Regions from separate parts of the Homo sapiens genome. Here all the other regions are linked to region 2. The links are contacts of gene promoters, found by promoter capture Hi-C in blood cells and fetal thymus (Javierre and others, 2016). All regions are on one chromosome and are shown on one strand. Each heading gives the region's core, a stretch centred on a gene start or on the middle of the fragment in contact. The rest is flanking DNA. Distances are from core to core; before and after follow the strand shown. Region 1 overlaps IUR1 (imatinib upregulated ABL suppressing lncRNA 1). Region 2 holds the start of ARAP1-AS2 (ARAP1 antisense RNA 2). Region 3 has its middle 9.1 kb from the start of IUR1.

Evidence for each region. The method cuts DNA at HindIII sites, captures the fragments that hold promoters and counts their contacts. A CHiCAGO score of 5 or more calls a contact.
Region 1: a fragment that was not itself captured here is called in contact with the fragment with the promoter of ARAP1-AS2 in region 2 in 1 of 17 cell types (erythroblasts); the score reaches 6.1 in erythroblasts.
Region 3: a contact is called between a fragment that was not itself captured here and the fragment with the promoter of ARAP1-AS2 in region 2, in 3 of 17 cell types (activated CD4 T cells, neutrophils and fetal thymus). The highest score is 7.7, in activated CD4 T cells.

Annotation. Positions count from the first base shown.
Region 1 is chr11:73,160,273-73,164,262 of GRCh38, forward strand. It overlaps IUR1 (imatinib upregulated ABL suppressing lncRNA 1), which reads right to left. Exons shown (of 4, transcript XR_950294.3): 3 at 2,268-2,399. Among named protein-coding and RNA genes, the nearest start is that of FCHSD2, 20 kb to the left of the region's middle. The HindIII fragment of the contact is 1,325 bases long and covers 974-2,298 here.
Region 2 is chr11:72,697,963-72,701,871 of GRCh38, forward strand. It overlaps ARAP1-AS2 (ARAP1 antisense RNA 2), which reads left to right and starts at 2,512. Exons shown (of 2, transcript NR_146780.1): 1 at 2,512-2,591. ARAP1 (ArfGAP with RhoGAP domain, ankyrin repeat and PH domain 1) reads right to left here. Exons shown (of 35, transcript NM_001040118.3): 16 at 3,687-3,821; 17 at 1,455-1,590; 18 at 1,043-1,145; 19 at 1-144. RefSeq lists a silencer at 3,058-3,157. The HindIII fragment of the contact is 37,247 bases long and covers 1-3,909 here.
Region 3 is chr11:73,190,084-73,194,020 of GRCh38, forward strand. No RefSeq gene overlaps it. Among named protein-coding and RNA genes, the nearest start is that of IUR1, 9.1 kb to the left of the region's middle. The HindIII fragment of the contact is 1,118 bases long and covers 1,581-2,698 here.

The DNA.
Region 1 (3,990 bases), core at 386-2,885, 460 kb after region 2:
AGTGATGTCACATGGGAGGACAGGGCAGGATGGGAGGGAGGAATGGGACTAAGGAAATGCTTGGGGAGTAGGTGGGGTGTCCCCATCACATCTAGGTGGAGGTGGCTATGTCTTCATCTGGGTGTGAGACCATCCTAGCTCTCAGTATCCTGGTCCCCACCCTAGCCCAGTTGAGGAGCCTTCAGAGGCCAGAGGTCATATGTCATCACCTCCCAGAGAAACCCTGCCTAGCCCCAAAGTTGTCTGTTCCCAGCATACCAGCCCAGGAGAGAGAGAGCATGGGGCAGTGAGTCACCAAAGTATATGACTTTGGGCATATCACACTCCCGTCTGTACGATGAAGAGGTGGACTCTGTAAACACTAAGGGCTCGTCTGGTCAGGACAGTCTGTAGGCAGATGAAGTGGAAGAGACTGCTCCTGTGTGCAGGTGCTGGCTGGGTGCTCCCGTGTCTCTCGTCCCATCTAACTGCTCGGCCAAGGAGGGAGAAAGCTCCATGGAAAGCTTTGCCTCTGCTTGAGGCAGAGAAAGGTGGCATGGGCATTGTGTGTATGTGATAAAAATATACGCGGAATATAAAAATTACAATTTTAACTATTTTAGATGTACAATGATGTACAATGCAGTGTCATTAAGTACATACACAATGTTGTGCTCCACTATCCATTTCCAAAGCTTTTTTTTTTGAGACGGAGTCTTGCTCAGTTGCACAGGCTGGAGTGCAATGGCATGATGGCTCACTGCAACCTCCGCCTCCCAGGTTCAAGCAATTCTTCTGCCTCAGCCTCCTGAGTAGCTGGAATTACAGGCACCCGCCATCATGCCCCTCTAATTTTTTTGTATTTTTGTAGAGATGGGTTTCACCATGTTGGTCAAGCTGGTCTTGAACTCCTGACTTCAGGTGATCTGCCCTCCTCAGCCTCCCAAAGTGGTGGGATTACAGGTGTAAGCCACTGCGCCCAGCCCATTTCCAAAGCTTTTCATCATCCCAAACAGAAACTCTGTAATTATTAAACATTAACTCCCCATTCCCCTTCCTCCTACCCCTGATAATCCTCTTATTCTGCTTTTGGTCTATGAATTTGCCTTTTCTAGGTACCTCATATAAGTGGGATCATACAATACTTGTTTTTTGTGTGTATCTGGCTTCTTTCATAATGTTTTCAGGATTCATCCATGTTGTACATGTGTCAGTACTGCATTCCTTTTTAAAAGTTGAATAATATTTCACCTTATGGGTATACATTTTGTTTAGCCATTCATCTGTTGATGGACAATTGGGTTATTTCCACTTTTTGGCTATTGAGAATAATCCTGCTGTGAACATTGGTATATAAGTATCTGCTTAAGTCTCTGCTTTCCATTTTGGGGGATATAGACCTAGAAGGGAAATTGCTGGATCAACTTGGTAGCTCAATGTTTCACTTCTAAAGGAACCAACAAACTGTTTTCCACAGTGGTTACACCATTTTACATTTCTATGAGCAGTGCACTAGGGTTCCAATTTTCCTACATCCTTGCAAACACTTGTAATTTTCCTTTTAACAAAAAGTTATATCCATCATAATGGGTGTGAAGTGGTATCTCATTGTGGTTGGCCTGGAGATTTTTTTTCAAAAAACATATTTGACCAGGTGCAGTGGTTCGTGCCTGTAATCCCAATGCTTTGGGAGTCCAAGGCAGAGGATTGCTTTAGCTCAGGAGTTCGAGACCAGCCTAAGCAGACTCCTGTCTATACAACAACAACAACAAAATAATTTAAGAAAAAATTAGCCAGGCACAGTGGTGCACATTTGTAGTTCCAGCTTCTTGGGAGGCTGAGGATCACTTGAGCCCAGAAGTTCAAAGCTGTAGTAAGCTATGATTACACCACTACACTCCAGCCTGGATGACAGAGCAAGACCCTGTCTCTAAATAAAAAACAAAGCAAAACAAAACAAAACAAAAACCGTATTTTAGCTGCAGGGTTCTTTAATCAGAGGAAAAGTTACCCAAAGACTGCATGAAGGCTTTGGTGAGGAGTTGATAGTGGTTAACTGGAGGCAAGAAGGGCAGGTAAGGTCGCATGGGGCTGATAACTATGCACGTGCGTGTGCGTGCATGCGTGTATGTGTATTGAGGGGGTGCTCGTGTGTAGAGGGCACTTTCTCTTGGTCTCCCTCTCCCTGACTTGCCCCACACAGAGGTCTTTTCTGAGGAACCCAGTGGCATAGTATAAAAGTCCCTGACTAATGGTCACTGAAGTCACTTCCTTTCTGGGATACTTACCGGGAGGAGGCCATGTGTAACAGGGGCAGGAAGCTTCTCTATTTCGTCGTTAGGGGAGGACTTAGCAAGTCACCTTGGAGGAGGCCCTCTCTGTTCTGTCCACCACTTGAGTTTATCAGATGTAAGTAGCACCTGGGAGACAAAACAGGACCTTTTGTGGCCCAACAAAGGCTGCCTCTCCTAACATCAAATGGGATGCAGAGCTGAAGAAAAAGGCAACATATTTGGGAGGAGTGAGACGTTGACAAAGGAGCCCCAGGGCACAAATGGAAGAAGGTCCAGTCACTTTCCTTGTGAGGTTCAAAGTTATCTGGCTGCTAAGATGACCATCCCCAGTGAGCCCCACTTGTTGGAAGGAAAGAACCCCTGAGCCCCCAGTGGTGTAGGAAGGAGCCTTGGACTGGTGGCCAGGCTTAACTCTGGGGCTGAGGACCTAGAAGCCCCTCTGGACCTTCCTCCTGGTGAAACTTGCTGGAGCTCAGGAGTGTGAATGAAAGCTTGGATTTGGGGGTCATGTGTTCACAGCTGCTGGGACTCTGAACAGTAAGATGGAGCAAGACTGGGACTCAAGAGTGCCTTTGTTGGAAAGGAGCTAGTGTAGTCCCTGTGGGTTTTGAGCACTCCTGTGACATGGGGGAAGGCCTCCAGAGGGCCAGATTGAACTTCCTGCTGATAAAATCTTGTGGAGCTCAAGCAATTAATGGGGAAAAAATTTGGCCATAGTTTTTACCTTAAGCTGGTGGAGGGACCACACAAGTTACATGCAGTTCTCAAGTTATTTGGTTCTCTAGTTCCAGAGGTGGGGCAGGATGAGGGGGACCAGGAAAGTATATTATTCCTTTTTGCACCCAAGCCAGCTCAAGACAACCCTGGGGAATGGGAGGGAAAGTCTCTGGGCCTCTTTCCTTACTTAGGTTTCCTTCGTGGGTCCCCTTCAAGAGCCGCTCCTCATCTTCAGGATTCCACCATGGCCCCTTGCCTATGTCTACAGCCCATGATAGTACTCAAGTACTCAGGCTATTTCCTGTTCACTGTCCCTACAAAGCTTATCCAGCCTGGGTCCAGGTTCCTCTGTTCCCCATTAGGAGCACTGAGCTCAGCTAATAGACCAAATTGACCGAAGGAGCTGGTGACAACAGTTGGTTAATCCAGCCACTAAGGGCTTCACATGCATCCCTTCCCTGACTCCATTCACATTTCACCAAGGATCACAGTTACTCCAAAGGCACAACAATCTGAGCAAAAGGTTGCTGGAATGTGCTGCTTCAACAGCCTTTCAGCTCTGTTGTGCAAAGAAGGTGTAATTCTACTGGTGGAATTTTAGGCACTTTGAAAGAATGTTTGGGATATAGTTTCTTGCAAATAGGCAACCTTTGCTCACCCACAGAGAAGACAGCATTTTCTGCCTACACATGAGGGAGCCTACGTGAGGCCCAGCTCCAGTTGTGACCTTCAGTTCCACTCCCTAGGCCAAGATGCTAAATTCAGATCACCCATTAGTTCAGAAGCAGGTTAGACCAGTCACCATAAGCATGTGCCTGGGCAACCAATCTTGTTTATGCAAAAGGAGTCTTTAGTCTGCAATGTTTTGCACACCCAGCACACAAATGAAAACAGTTCTTGACTACACTTGGAAGGAAAAGAAAGAAAAGCAGGATAAAGGGCAAGATAAGAGAAGATAGCAAGTGCCAAGGAACTGAATCCTATCAGCCACCAAACCTTC
Region 2 (3,909 bases), core at 1,262-3,761:
GAAGACAGCACGGAGCTCCGAGCCACTGAGAGAGAACCAGCCCTCCTGGGCCCGCTGTAGGCTCAGGCCAGCTTTGTAGGGTAGGCGTCCCAGCCGCTCAAAATCCCGGGCCAGCAGATCCTCGGCTAGGGGAGGCACGAATGCCTGGCAGAGAGGCGCCGGGGGAGACAGCATCAGCCAACGGCACTGCCTGCCCCAATGCCCCAGCTCCTTGGCTTACAGGCACATGCCCTCTTCCCACCCAGCTGCCTTCTCTTCTCTTCCCCAAGGCAGAACCAAGCCCAGTGATGGAACTTGGGTACCATGCCCCACTTCATACCCACTCAGATGTGCCCGCCTCTGGAAAGCCTTCCCAGACACCTTCTGGAGGGCCCTTCTCTGGGCCCCCACAGCACCAAAGCATTCTTGCCCTCTGTTGTGGCACTGGTTACACTGCTGCTGCCGCCTGAACTACACCCGCAGGGGAGCTGTCTCCCCCACCCACATGGGTGCTACTGAAGAGCTAGGACTAAGCCTGGTTCATCTGGGTCCCAGGTCTCCGAGGGCTGACTCTCAGGAGGCGCACAAGACAACTGATCAACGGAGAAGTGAATGATAAAAAGTCACAGGCTCTCACAGCACAGGGGACCCCACAGGCACCTGGCTCTAGTCCCCGAGGCAGAGCTCTCCCGGTGGCCTCCCTGCCTCTTCCCTCCAGCCTCTGCTTGCTCGCCTCCAGGAACGAGGAGCACACCCCCTCTGGAGGCCGCACTGTCCATCCTAAGATGGCTCTGACTGTCATTCACTGTTAAACACTTATTGAGCACCTATGGAGTGCAAGGCCCACAGCCCTTCTTCTGCAGAGCTAGGATAGGTCTGACCAACTCCGCAGAGGGCTGCAGATTACAGTAGGCTCTTGGTGGGACAGGCCCGCTCCATGTCTGCTGCCCTGCATCTAGCTTCTGCTCTCTAGACGGGGGAGCTGGGATACATGGGATTGGCCAGGAGGCCCCACCTTCCCCAGTCAGACACCCTTACACCCACCCTGCTACCCCAGGCTCACCTTAGCAATACACTTGACCCACTCATGAGCCTGCTCCGCACTCTCCAGCCCAAACAGGTACAGCCGTTCTCCCTCCGTGTACACCTCAAAGGTGTGCTCAAAGCTGCAAATACACAGGCCAGGACTCAGGCCCACCTCATCCAGCACGGGCCCACCCCCAACCCGCACCATCAACCGCCATCCTCTGCCCCCTCCGCACTGCCTTGGCGCTTGTCCTTATTCTGGTCCCCTAAGAGGTGGTGGAAAAGTCTTGGGCTGGGGCCTCAAGAGACTGGAGTCGGCCCTTGTGCAGCCTCCGTTTGCTGTGTGACTCTGCGGAGGTCCTCCCCTTCTCTGGGTCTATTTCCCTGTCTCCCCAGTGGGGGATTGTACCTTATAGCAACCACAGTCTGATTTGCCCAGGAGTACTCACCCATGGGTGTCAGGAGGGGGCACTGCCAGGCACACAATCTCGCTGGCCCGAATCTCTCCATTGGGGGTCACTGCCCGCTCATTCTCAAAGTAGCTCAGGACCCCGTCACCAAGGACACACCAGCGCCGGCTGAACTCTGGGGAGAATTTGGGCAGGGGAGCCATCAGGGAGCCCCCCACCACCTGAAAACCACCTCTGCATCCTCCCGGGGCTCCTGCTCCCATCTGACCCATGAGCTCTTCATTCTCTCAAGTTTTCCCTAAATCCATCCACCTCTCTGCATCCCCACCACGCTAGCCAGCCCACAAGTCATCCGCTCCCCCAGGCCTCTGCAGCAGCCCCTTCCAAAATCCCAGAGTGATCTAGCTAAAATCAGACCCCATCCTTCCTCTAACCAAAACCATTCCATGGTCCTCAGGACAGACTCTGTGCCCCTCAGCCTGCCATTCAAGGCCCTGCCAGGTCTACCCCTGCCCGTCTCTCCAGCTGCCTCTCTGTCACTCCTGGACACACACATCCCTACCCAGCACTCCCAGCTTTTGCAAACCTTGTCCCCTCTACCCACCACCTGAATGTCACAGGAAGCCTTCTATGCCCCAACCTCCTTTTCCAGAAGCATCTATCACTCTGTACTCTGCCTCCTGCTACAATGGCTCTGAAGGACTGGCAAGGTCCCATAAAAGAAACAGAAATGGGAATCTGGACCAGGAAAGGTAATGGAAAGGATAGGCTGTCATGGCCATGCAGGCTTGTACCGTTCACAGCACTGAGCTTTACAGTGGCTCAGAGCTTCCTGGCATCCAGGGCAAAAAGGATGACTCAGGCAGTTGTTACATAAATGACATTGTCAGGCAGAGGGAGGCAGACCTGGGGCAATGAGGTTGTGAACAGCATGGAGTTCCAAAGAAATCTCTTTGGGAGTTGGAGGGCTTTGTCCCCGTAGGAAAGCATGCAGGAGGTGCTGAGGGATGTTGTCAGCAATGACCTCACAATGTTCCCACAGCAGACTCTGTCTCTCATCCTGTCTGTGAGGGCCTGACATGTGCTCTTTGAGAGCAATGTGTCCTCAGGCCTGTCCCCGCAGGTGGGCTCCCTCCAGGAGCACCAGCTCTGCCTGAGTCATCCTTCATTCTGCAGGTATTTGCCAAGTGCCCACTGTGTGCTAGCCACTGTTCTAGGATCTGGGGGCTACAGGCAGTGGTGGCCAAAAGGAGTTTATGTCCCAGTGGGGTACAGAGAATCTATAGATAAGTACATTAATGGACAAATGAGTACCAGGTAAGTGGTGTGAAGAAAATGCAGGGTAGCCAGGCGTGGTGACTCACGCCTGTAATCCCAGTACTTTGGGAGGCCAAGGCGGGCAGATCACCTGAGGTCGGGAGTTTGAGACCAACCTGACCAACATGGTGAAACCCCATCTCTACTAACTAAATTAGCCAGGCATGATGGCGCATGCCTGTAATCCCAGCTACTCGGGAGGCTGAGGCAGGAGAATTGCTTGAACCCGGGAGGCAGAGGTTGCGGTGAGCCAAGATCGCGCCATTGCACTCCAGCCTGGGCAACAAGAGCGAAACTCCATCTCAAAAGGGTAAAGGGAGAGATGGGGGGTGCTATTTTGCATAAGGTAGTCAGAGATGACATCTCTGCAGGAGTGATACTGAAACAGAGACCTGACGGAAGTGAGGGACTGGCCATGCAGATACCTGGGGGAATGCATTTCAGGCAGAGGGAACAGCACAGGCAAAGATCCTGGTAGGTGACGACGTGTCTGAGAAACAGTGAGGAGACCGGCAGAGTGATTAGGGGGGTGGTTCAGAGAGGTAATGGGGGTGGTGGCCAACTGTGCGGGCTCTTGTGGATTTTCTTCTGAGTTGGGGAGTGAATGGAAGGCTGAGATCAGATGGATAGGGCTTTCGTTCAGTCCTCAAACTCCCTACCAGCCACAGGCTCTTACTACCAGATGCTCAGCAGAGCCCATATCCAGTAGGGGCTCAATAAAGGCTCATTTAGTCCAAAGAAACTCTGGCACTGACCTGCTCTGCAGTGTCATGCACTACCCCCACTCCCACCAGGATCATTTAGGAAGTACCTACTGTGTACCACAGACTATATCCAGGAAGCCCTCTAGGGTGACTCTGCCAGAGTCCACCAGTCTGGCCAGCCCTGGCTTCCCTAGCCCTGCAGCCGTGACCAGATGCCATGGGCTAAAGCAGAGTCTGGGGTGGCACCCACCTTCCCGGGCCCGGCGGTCCTGTAGCAGCTTGCCGGCAGAGGCAGTCTTGTAGAGGAAGCCACTGTGGCTCACGGTCGGCAGGACAACTGAGTAGTGCTTTTCCAGGGGCTTCATCGAGTCCAGCCGAGGCACCTCTTTGTAGGCGGGGAAAGGATGGCAGGTCATGCTGGCCACCCAAGAGGGTGTCCCCACCTCACTCCCACCTGGCCTGGGCATTCAGGC
Region 3 (3,937 bases), core at 890-3,389, 490 kb after region 2:
CACCTCAAATCCTTTTTGAAAGGCTGAGTACCTGAATAAATAGATAAATGTTGACTGAGTCTAAAAACACACATGCAGCCTGAGAAAAGCCTTGTTTATCCAGCCTCCCTAAATAAGGAGTCAATTCCCAGAGCGGACTCTCCAGATGATTCAGGATGGAGGAACCTAAAGATGTGGAAGAATAGAGGCCTCCTAGGTGGAGGGAACATCGTGAGCCACAGCTGAGAGCTGGAGGATACTTGGCTGCAAGTCGAACAGCCACATGAGATGAGCTGATAAGGCTGGCAGGGTCCAGAGCCTGGAGGGCCTCGAATGCCAGGCCAAGGAGCCAGACCTTATCCAGAGGGCAGTGGGAACCATGGAAGGGTTTTGAGCAGGGGAGTGACAAGGCTGGGTGTGTGGCCAGCAGGGTCCCTCTCTGGTTGCTGCATGAAGCATGGACTGAAGGCAGACAGCAGTGTCAAAGGGCCCTCTGCTTTTGAGGTTCAGGAGGAAAAGATGAAGGATGAAGTTGGGCAGTTCAGCGGAAGGTGAGAGGTGGACAGTCCCCAGGATAGCACAGAGGGGTGGCCAGGATTTAGTTAAGGATGGGAGGAGGGCAGGCAGAAAATGAGAGGAGGCTTGGTGGCTTCTGGGTTCCTGGCCCAGGTGACCGGCTGGTTGGTGATGCTCTTGCTGAGGTTGTGACAGGAAGAGCAGGTCTGGGGAAAGATAAAGAGTTCATCAGCTTTGGACATGTCAGGGGAGCAGGCGTCCCAAAGGAGGATTGATTAGAGGGCTGGAGCCAGGTAAATGTGGACAGATTTTCCCTGAATGACATTTTACTGGATGACTTTAAAGTATCCCAAGTATCCTGGGGACAGTCTTTGGCACCAACTGCCTATGGTCCCCAAGACAGATAGGACCAGGACTTGGGTCCCAGAGAAGGGTCAGCAAAGGGTCTGACTAGGGTGAAGGGGAGGGTCTAAGATCCTTGGCTCAGGAGTACCCCCAGGGTAATGCAGGAGTGGCTGGCACAGAGGTTTAGAGGTAGATAAGGGGTAGGAAAAAGCCATGGGTGGGCTGAGCTGGCAAGCCTCAGAGACCAGTCAGCCCAGAACCATCATTGTACAGACAGACAGAGCCAGGCCCGGCAAGGCCTAGGGATCTGGCAGGTCACAAGTCAAGGCAGACAGGTCATCAGCTTCTGGCTCAGTGCTGTACCCTCAGCCCGACTGGCTGGGAGGGGTCAGCTCCGTGTGGGCCTGGGATTGAGCTCCTGGGCCACGTCTAGGTGCTGTGGGCTTGTGTGGTTCGGGTGGAAGCACTGGGGCAGGCAGATGAGAGCCCCACCCTGAGCAGCACCCTAAACCCACTGTCTGTCAGTCTGCCCCAACCCTGTGCTTTTACTTTCTCAGTCCCAGGACCCAGGCTGGGCTGTAATCAGAGGAGGGAACTGGAACCTGGACCGGGGGAACACAAAGCTCTGCACACAGCCAGTCTCCTGGCAGATGCTGAGATGCTCATGGGTGGGTGGGGGACTGTGGCATCAGGGGCCATGTTCCACACAAGGTGAAATGCAGTAAGGGCAATTTCCACAAAGCTTGTTGAGCCAGGTACTGTTTTATGATCTTGAAACAGTGAACAGGATTTATGTTCTAACTAGACATTGACAATAAGCAAACTAATACATAACATAACAATGGAAAGATGAGAGGAAGAAACAGAGCCCAGAGGGATGGGCACCTTCAGTGGGGAGCGGGGAATGGCCACTTGACAGAAGACCCCTGCAGGCCTGATGGGCTGAGTGATTTTAATTAAATCTATGTCCCTACCCCCGACCCATGTACCCCCACCCCGCCTGCCACCAGGCACTCCACCTTCTCCTCAGCTCTAGCTGCACCACTGGGAGTTCCTATTTTTTTTTTTTTTTTTTTTTTTTTTGAGACAGAGTCTCACTCTGTCACCCAGGCTAAAGTGCAGTGGTGCGAACTTGGCTCACTGCAACCTCCACCTCCCGAGTTCAAGCAATTCTCCTGCCTCAGCCTCCCAAGTAGCTGGGATTACAGGCTCCCGTCACCACACCCAGATAACTTTTGTATTTTTAGTAGAGACGGGGTTTCACCATGTTGGCCAGGCTCGTCTTGAACTCCTGACCCCAAGTGATCTGCCCGCTTCTGCCTCCCAAGGTGCTGGGATTACAGGTGTGAGCCACTGCACCCAGCCGCACCATTGGGAGTTTCTGAGGGCTGCCCTTGACTGGACCATTACCAGGGCCTGAGGAGGACTGTGGGGAAATGAGCCTCTCACAAGGTCTAGTCCCTCCCACAAAGTCCTGCCCAAGAGCCACCCCAACCTGCCCACTTGGCTCCTCCAACCTGGGAGCCAGGTAAGAGCTGAGGAGCCCCAGGGCCTTGGCACTGAGTCAGATGTAGCCTGGGAGGTGGAGGTGACTCACTTGGGGGTGTCAAGATCCAGGAAACCACAGCCCAGGGTCAGGGCAGAAACCTGGAGACTCCCTGCCTTGCCTTGCCCCAGAATGATGAATAGGAGGGCCCTGGCCTTTCCTAAGAAGCCCCCAGCCAAGGGTCCTCCTGCTGTCATGAAGGCCCAAGTTCCAGTCAAGTTGTTGAGAGGTGCCCAAGGACCTGCCAGTGCCTGCTTCCTCTGGGCCTCGGCCTCCTAGTCCACTTATAGTGGGGAGCAATGGGGCTAGATAAGCTTCAGTGTTCCTAGCAGCTCTGAATTTCTGTTTCGTTGAGTATGTTGCAGGAGGCCCACAACCTCTGATGGTTCCTGGGGGCTCAGGGCAGGGGTGAATGACAGATGCTGAAAAGCGGGGGTCAAGGGAGGGTTTGCAAGGTTTAGCAAATGTCAATACAGGATATGTTGTTAAATTTGAATTTCAGATTAGCAATGAATAACTTTTTAGTATAAGCACATGTCCCAAATATCCGTTATGTTAAAGAATTTTTCACTGTTTATCAGAAATTCAAATTTGACTGGGCGTCTTGTACTTTCTCCGGCCATGCTAGGTGGGAAAGGTAATTGGAGCTGGGACTTCATCAGAGGAAGGTCTTAGACTCAGACAACTGGAGCTCTCACCACCTCCCTTGCTGCCCTCAGGGTCCCTTATCCATGAACTTCTTGATTTGTTGGAAGGTAGGGGGATGAGGGAGTGAGAACCCTGGGGTTAGGGGAAACTAAGAGCTATGTAGAGAGGCAGAGAGACCCCAAGACCCCAAGAGGCAGCACCGGAACTCTTCCTGGCCTGCACTCAGCTAACCTCGCCACCTCTCTTCCCCAGAACTCCTGCAAAGCTCAACCTCATTCCTACTGCCATACCCTTGCTTGTTCCAGCCCTGCCTCTTTCCATCCTATGCAAACTTTACCCACAGCCTCTGCCAGGAGCCCTTTCTTGGCTATCCTTTAGCGTTGTGACTTCCTCCTCTGGGTTCCCAGAGTGCTGTCAGTCACCCTCCTCCTCATGGAGCTGTTCAATCAATGGAGCACCCTCTCTGGAGGAGGCTTTGGAGCAGACTCTGGGCAGTGATTAGGACAGTGGAGCCGACAGTGATCGGGACAGGCACAGCCCCTGCTCCATGGAGCACACGGTCTGGTGGGGAGGCAGACACACAATCACAAAACAGGAGAGAATGAATCGCCCTTTCACTGGGACCAACTGGTCCATGTCACTGAGGCTTTATGCAGGCAGAGGACACGTTCTGTTGTACTCGGGCCCTACCACAGAGCAGGCTTCAGTGAATATTAGTGGCATAAGTGAGAGTGCAATGATGCAACTAAAGCTGGGGATGGTGGGGACGCTGACTAAGTCTGAGAGGTCACCATGCAAACAGCCTGAACTCGGCACCTCCGGCCGTGGCCTGGACCTGGTGAGGCTTGGCATCATGGCATGCCATTGCTCATGAGAATCTGGCCCTGCAAGAGTCTGCATTTC